Regions from separate parts of the Homo sapiens genome. Here region 2 is linked to region 1. Evidence: promoter capture Hi-C in 16 types of primary human blood cells and fetal thymus (Javierre and others, 2016). All regions are on one chromosome and are shown on one strand. Each heading gives the region's core, a stretch centred on a gene start or on the middle of the fragment in contact. The rest is flanking DNA. Distances are from core to core; before and after follow the strand shown. Region 1 holds the start of MSH2-OT1 (MSH2 overlapping transcript 1). Region 2 has its middle 36 kb from the start of MSH6.

Evidence for each region. The method cuts DNA at HindIII sites, captures the fragments that hold promoters and counts their contacts. A CHiCAGO score of 5 or more calls a contact.
Region 2: a fragment that was not itself captured here is called in contact with the fragment with the promoter of MSH2-OT1 in region 1 in 2 of 17 cell types (naive B cells and M0 macrophages); the score reaches 6.8 in naive B cells.

What each region holds. Positions count from the first base shown.
Region 1 is chr2:47,526,239-47,529,480 of GRCh38, forward strand. MSH2-OT1 (MSH2 overlapping transcript 1) reads left to right here and starts at 1,299. Exons shown (of 3, transcript NR_120602.1): 1 at 1,299-1,566; 2 at 2,063-2,130; 3 at 2,829-2,926. All of the region lies in intron 1 of KCNK12 (potassium two pore domain channel subfamily K member 12), which reads right to left. It also overlaps a transcript of MSH2 not described here. The HindIII fragment of the contact is 9,331 bases long and covers 1-2,306 here.
Region 2 is chr2:47,745,104-47,748,659 of GRCh38, forward strand. No RefSeq gene overlaps it. Among named protein-coding and RNA genes, the nearest start is that of MSH6, 36 kb to the right of the region's middle. RefSeq lists a silencer at 3,043-3,196. The HindIII fragment of the contact is 2,462 bases long and covers 51-2,512 here.

The sequences.
Region 1 (3,242 bases), core at 49-2,548:
ACAAAAAAAAAAAAAAAATTAGCCAGGTGTGGCGGCGGGTGCCTGTAGTCCCAGCTACTCGGGAGGCTGAGGCAGGAGAATGCCGTGAACCCAGGAGGCGGAGCTTGCAGTGAGCCGAGATTGCGCCACTGCACTCCAGCCTGGGCAACAGAGTGAGACTCCCTCAGAAAAAAAAAAAAAAAGAGAAAGAAAGAAAAGAAACAAAGAAACTGGCTGAGCCTGGTGGCTCACGCCTGTAATCCCCAGCACTTTGGGAGGCCAAGGTGGGTGCATCACTTGAGGCCAGGAGTTCAAGACCAGCCTGGGCAACTTGGCGAAACTCCGTTTATACTAAAAATACAAAAATTAGCCGGGCATAGTGGAGTGCACTTGTAATCCCAGCTACTTGGGAGGCTAAGCCAGGAGAATCGCTTGAATCCGGGAGGCAGAGGTTGCAGTGAGCCAAGATCGCGCCACTGCCTTCCAGCCTGGGCGACAGAGCGAAACTCCGTCTCAAAAACAAACAAAAACCCCAAAACACAAAAAGACATAAAAACTATTTGGATAACTCTAGCATTTACCCAAGATGTTAAGGAATCTAAAAGGGAGTTCTTAAAGACAATAGATGAGACAAAGCCATTTCCAGTGTCGGCCCATTTAATAAACTGGTTCCACCTGGATTTTCTCTTCATTGTGGTGAAAGCCACCACCTAACAATGCTGGCCCTGCCTGCATCATCGCATGTCATCATGACAACCTATGGGGGAGAACAGCTCCATTCAACAGATGCAGAAACTGCAGGTTAAAGGGTGAAAAGCAGTTGCGAAGTCCCCACAGCTTGGAAATGGTGGAGCCGAGACTGAAACCCAGGTGTGCTAGCATCTAAAGTTCATGCTCTTTCCACCACATTAGACTGTATTCTGAGGGCACCAAGGAAGCTCCATTTTTCTTAAGAAACCAAATTGCAGTCCTCCAGGACCACAGCCAGGGGAGCATCTTCGTGGGAGAGTGGCTGCTGCTCAGAGTTGTGACTCCCATCCTTAAGAGTCCTCTGTCCTCTCTGGCCTCCTTTCTACTGATCATTGCTGTCCCCTTCACAGGGGAGAGGGGCCATGGCCTATCCCCTAAAGAGTCTGCCAAGGTAGACTCATAACCTCCCCGTGGCACAGCTCAGACAAGCTGGGCTATTTACATAAGACTTGACCCAGGGCTTGAGGACAGCGCGAGGAATGAGGTGCAGAGGAGACTGCTGCTTCTGGGTGACAGTCTGCCTGGCTGACCACAGCTGGGGTACTCATTGGCCTCTTGAGGCCCCCCACAGGCCTGCCCTGCCTGACCTACTCTTGTGAGGCCAAGGCCATCTCCTCCACTCTCTGGGGGCCTCTTCTGACTCCTCCAAACTCTTCCATGTCTGGACTCCTGGCTTCTGCCCAAGGCCATCTATTGGAGTTTGGGTTTCCAGTTGAGGATCTGCCTTTTTCCTGGATGACCAAACCTAGAATGTGACCGGCCTCATGCTCCCTCCTCACAAGGGTGTGGCTTTATCCGAGGGCCTCAGCAAGGCAACCAACACCAGACATGAAGCTGGTAAGACCAACATCCACCTATTCATTCCTTCAGCAAACATTTACTGTGGACAGCATCAGGTTGGCAGTATCATGCAAGGCTCAGAAATATGGTGGAAAACCAGACAGATGCAGTTCCTGTCCTCAGTCTCTAGGCTGCCTTCCTAGAGGCCCCTCACTGGGTTTCTTAGCAGTTTTGTACAGATCCTACCCCCTTTGCTGCCAGCAGGCTCACCTCTGGGACAGGGCGCATATAGTCTGGGCCAGAACTTGTCCTGGGGTCTTCTTACGGCCCTGGTTCAGCTTGCATTCAGCATAACAACTTAGCTAGGGAGTGCTGCAGGCCCCAAATGATGCTAAATACTAGACTAGCTGTGTAACACCATCTGCCCAGAATGAAGGGACAGGTGAGGCAGAAGGGTCTCCGACAGCGCACAGGGCAACCAGTGAAAGCGTCCTTACTGTCCTGTTCCTGAGGTCTCTCTGTGCCTGCTTTACTGCCCTTCGCTTTCCTACAGAGCACACTCAGCTCATCCTGGGAGACAAGGTGGGGGTGGAGGATGGTCCATCCTTCTTCCGCATCAAGGTCAGTAGGTTCAGAGCTCTGGGGGGGTGCTGAGACCCTGGGACAGGCTTCCTGCTGAGGGCACTGGGGCCTATGCTTGTGCCACTGCCTAGCCAGTTGCCTCCCAGAGTAGAGAAGCAGTCTCCCAAGCTCTTGCAATTTGTGGGGAGCCAAGCTGCTCTGGAGAGGGGCCTCAAAGCTTCAGCCAGAGAAAAGGCAAACCCAGCCACCCTGAGAATCTCCTCCTCCCCCTCAATCACACCCTGCAGAGGCGTGATCTGTCCCTGGGTTCGCACCAAGCCTGCTATTTTGTTTATGCCACAATTGATCTGCCATCCCAGTTTGCAAAGAGCAGACACTTGGGGGCTTTATTATGCCACTTTGACAAAAGCTGTGAAGCTCGTTCCCACAGCCTGTCTGGTGCCGCCTTCGCAAATGGGGCCCTGGTGATGGGGCCTTCGGAGTTCAGCTCAGAGAGCATGGAAGTGAGATGGAGAGGCCAGCACTGATCTGTATCGTGCAGCCCTGGGCGGCAGCCTCGGTTGGGCCCTTGACACACTCCTCCCATCCAGGCCCCCAGCCACCCTGTGAGGGAGGCACTATTACGCCCAAAAATGCAGGCAAGGAAATGGGCTGAGGGAGGGGAAGCATTCACTGAAGTTAGTTTGTACGTGGCTGAGCTGGCCCTGAAGCCCATGCCCTTTCCACTTGCCAGACAGATGGGAAGTCTTGACTCATTACCCGCTGGAGACTTTTCCTGCTGGGCTCTGCACTGTCAACTGTGAGAGAGGGAAATAAAACGTACTGTACAGTCCAATCTGGGATACTTCTGAGAGTGAAAGTGGCTCTACTAGTAATTACCCCAGGACAGCATGTATAAACCAGGGCTGTTCCAAGCAACTGGGACACATGATTAAAATGCAGATTCCATGGCAGGTCCCGCTCAGAGGTTTATTTAGTGGGTCAGAAAATGGGCCCAGGAATTTCATTTTAACAAATGTCTCCAGATAAATCTGATGTAAATGGAATATTCCTTTAAGAATGCCATTCCTTTAAGAAATAATGTTAATAAGGTATTCCAGATGACCCTATTGGTTGGAATCTGTCCAACTACAAATATTTTGATTTAAATT
Region 2 (3,556 bases), core at 32-2,531, 220 kb after region 1:
TTCTTCCACATCTGCTTCTCCTTCCTTTTGTCATTTTCAATACCACATGAAGCTTAGAAGAGACTTCTAATGACCCTGAGACCCCTTGAAGAACACAGAACACAGCACCACTCACCTGCTTTTTGGAGTTTCTGTTTTCCTTATGGAGTCTGAAGTGTTGTGGGCAATTTCTTTCAGGTCTAAAGCTCTATTCCTTTTTGCATTGTATCGCCTAATCTCTTTGGTTTTAGTGGGTTCCATGAGTTGCTTTGTGCTGTGAGCGGGAACCTGACGTTTGTGTGTGCACTGGTTGACAAGTCACTGGTGAAGGCTGCAGTTTTGGAAATGGCTGACAGGGGATACAATGAATGGTTGCTACTGCAGGCAGGGCACACTTTTCTTTGTGCATTTAGATGAGAAAGGCATCATTTGAACACTTCAAAGGTGTAAGACTGCTCATCATTGAGGGATAAGACTCCCATGGGGGATAGGCTAGAATGGGTTTATTGGGTCACCCACCGCATGGCTGGTCTCATGGCATTTCCAACTTTTGGGGACCCAGGATGCAGTAAAAATGGGACCCTTGATTTTTAAAAATTTCGATGCCCTGCCTTCCAGTTGTGCCTGCTTTTCACATTTAAATATTTGACCCTGAAGACTACAAATGCTTCCCTTGCCCTATTCACTAAAGGGTTCCACCCTAAAGTCAGTAATCTAATTAAGCAGAAACAAGCTAAATTGAAAAGACCACCTATCTAACTAGATTGGTATTTAAAATAAGACCTGTGGCATTTAGCTGGCTATTTTGTAACACTTTGTAAAATAAATATCTGTAAAGGAAATCTCAATTTTTAAGAGCATCGTCCTACACTCAAGCCACAAGAAAACTTTTATAATGGGAAAGATATTGCTTAAAGTTTACACAACAGGCTGGGCATGGTGGCTCACGCCTGTAATTCCAGCATTTTGGGAGGCCAAAGTGGCCAGATCACTAGAGGTCAGGAGTTTGGGACCAACCTGGCCAACATGGTGAAACCTCATCTCCACTAAAAATTAGCCAGGTGTGGTAGCCTGTAATTGCAGCTCCTCTGCAGGCTGACGCAGGAAAATCATGTGAACCCAGGAGACGGAGGTTGCAGTGAGCGGAGATTGTGCCACTGCATTCCAGCCTGGGTGACAGAGCAAAACTCCATCTCAAAAAAAAAAAAAAAAAAAAAAAAAAAGAAGACTTTTCCAAAAGGAACACCTGTAAGTCCAAGAGAGCCATGTTAGGCTTATCTGGTATGTTAAAAGTGTACAGGAAACACTGTCAAGTAAGAAATATTTGTATAACTATGTTATTGATATGTTAATATACTTTGGATCAGTGTCCCCAACAAATCTCATGTTAAATTGTAATCCCCAGTATTGGAGATGGAGCCTGGTGGGAGGTGATTTGATCATGGGGGCGGAGTTCTCATGAATGGGTTAGCACCATCCCGTTGGAACTATTCCTGTGATAGTGAGTGAGTTATCATCAGATCTGGTTGTTAAAAGTTTGTAGCAACCCCCACCCTTCCTACTCCAGCCATGCAAGATGTGCCTGCTTCCCCTTCACCTTCCACCATGATTGTAAGTTTCCTGAGGCCTCTGAAGAAGCAGAAGTTGCTATGCTTCCTGCACAGCCTGCAGAACCATGAGCCAATTAAACCTCTTTTCTTTATAAATTACCTAGTCTCAGGTATTTCTTTATAGCCCATAATGGACTAATTGGTACTGAGGAGTAGGTCATTGCTATAAAGACACCTGAAAATGCAGAAGCAGCTTTGGAACTGGGTAACAAACAGGGGTTGGAACAGTTTTGAGGGCTCAGAAGAAGACAGGAAGATGAGGGAAAATTTGGAACTTCCTAGAGACTTGTTAAATTGTTGTGACCAAAATGCTTATAGTGATATGGACAATGAAGTCCAGGCTTAGGAGGTCTCAGATGGAAATGAGGAACTTTTTGGTAACTGGAGCAAAGGTCACTTTTGTTATGCCTTAGCAAAGAACTTGGAGGCATTGTGCCCCTGCCCTAGGGATCTATGGAACTTTGAACTTGAGAATGATGACTTAGGGTATCTGGTGAAAAAAATTTATAAGCAGCAAAGTGTTCAAGAGGTAGCCTGGCTGCTTCTAACCACTGATTCCCATATGCATGAGTAAAGAAATGATGTAAACCTGAAACTTATATTGAAAAGGGAAGCAGGATGGGCACAGTGGCTCATGCGTGTAATCCTAGAATTTTGGGAGGCCAAGGCAGACAGATCACTTGAGCCCAGGAGTTCAAGACTAGCCTGGGCAACATGGACAAACCCTGTCTCTATAAAATAAATAAATAAATAAGTAGCCAGGTGTGGTGGCACACGCCTATAGTCTCTGCCACTCAGAAGGCTGAGCCCAGGAGGTCAAGGCTGTGCAAGGCAATGATTGTGCCACTGCACTCTAGCCTGAGTGACAGAGACCCTGTCTCAAAACTAAATAAATAAAAAGTAAAAGGGAAGCAAAGCATAAAAGCTTGAAAAATTTGGAGCCTGGCCATGTGGTAGAAAAGAAAAGCCCACTGGCCAGGTGTGGTGGCTCACGCCTGTAATCCCAGCACTTTGGGAGGCCAAGGCAGGGAGATCATGAGGTCAGGAGTTCGAGACCAGCCTGGCCAACATGATGAAACCCCGTCTCTACTAAAAATACAAAAATTAGCTGGGTGTGGTGGCACATGCCTATAATCCCAGCTCCTCAAGAGGCTGAGGCAGGAGAATCATTTGAACCGAGGAGGTGAAGATTGCAGTGAGCCAAGGTCGTGCCATTGCACTCCAGCCTGGGTGACAGTGAGAGACTCCAACTCAAAAAAAAAGAAAAGAAAAGAAAAGGAAAGAAAAGCCCACCTTCGGGGAGCAATTAAAGCCAGCTGCATAAATTTTGCGTAACTAAAAAGAAGGTAAATGCTAATAGTGAAGACAATGGGGAAAGGGCCTTGAAGACATTTCACAGACATTCACCACAGCCCTTTTCATCAGAGGTCTGGAGACTTAGAAGGGAAGAATGGTTTCCTGGGCCAGGCCCAGGGCCCCATCACTCTGCACAGCCTCAGGACACAGCTCCCTGCATCCCAACCACTCCAGTTCCAGCCTTGGCTCAAAAGGTCCCAGGTACAGCGTGGGTTACTACTTCAGAGAGTGCAAGCCAGAAGCCTTGGTGGTTTCCACAGAGTGTTAAGCATCCAGGTGTGCAGAGTGCAAGAGCTGAGGCTTGGGAGCCTCTGCCTAGATTTCAGAGGATGTATGGAAAAGACTGGATGTCCACTCAGAAGCCTGCCACAGGGGTGGAGCCCTCATGGAGAACCACTTCTGGGGCAGTGCGGTGGGGAAATATGGGGGTTAGAGCTCCCTCACAGAGCCCCCATTGGGCACTTCCCTGTAGAGCTGTGAGAAGAGGACCAATATCCTCCAGACCCCAGAATGGTAGATCCACTGACAGCTTGCACCCTGCACTTGGAAAAGCTGCAGGCACTCAACATCAGCCCTTGAGAGCAGCCCTGGAAAGCCACAGAAGCAGGACT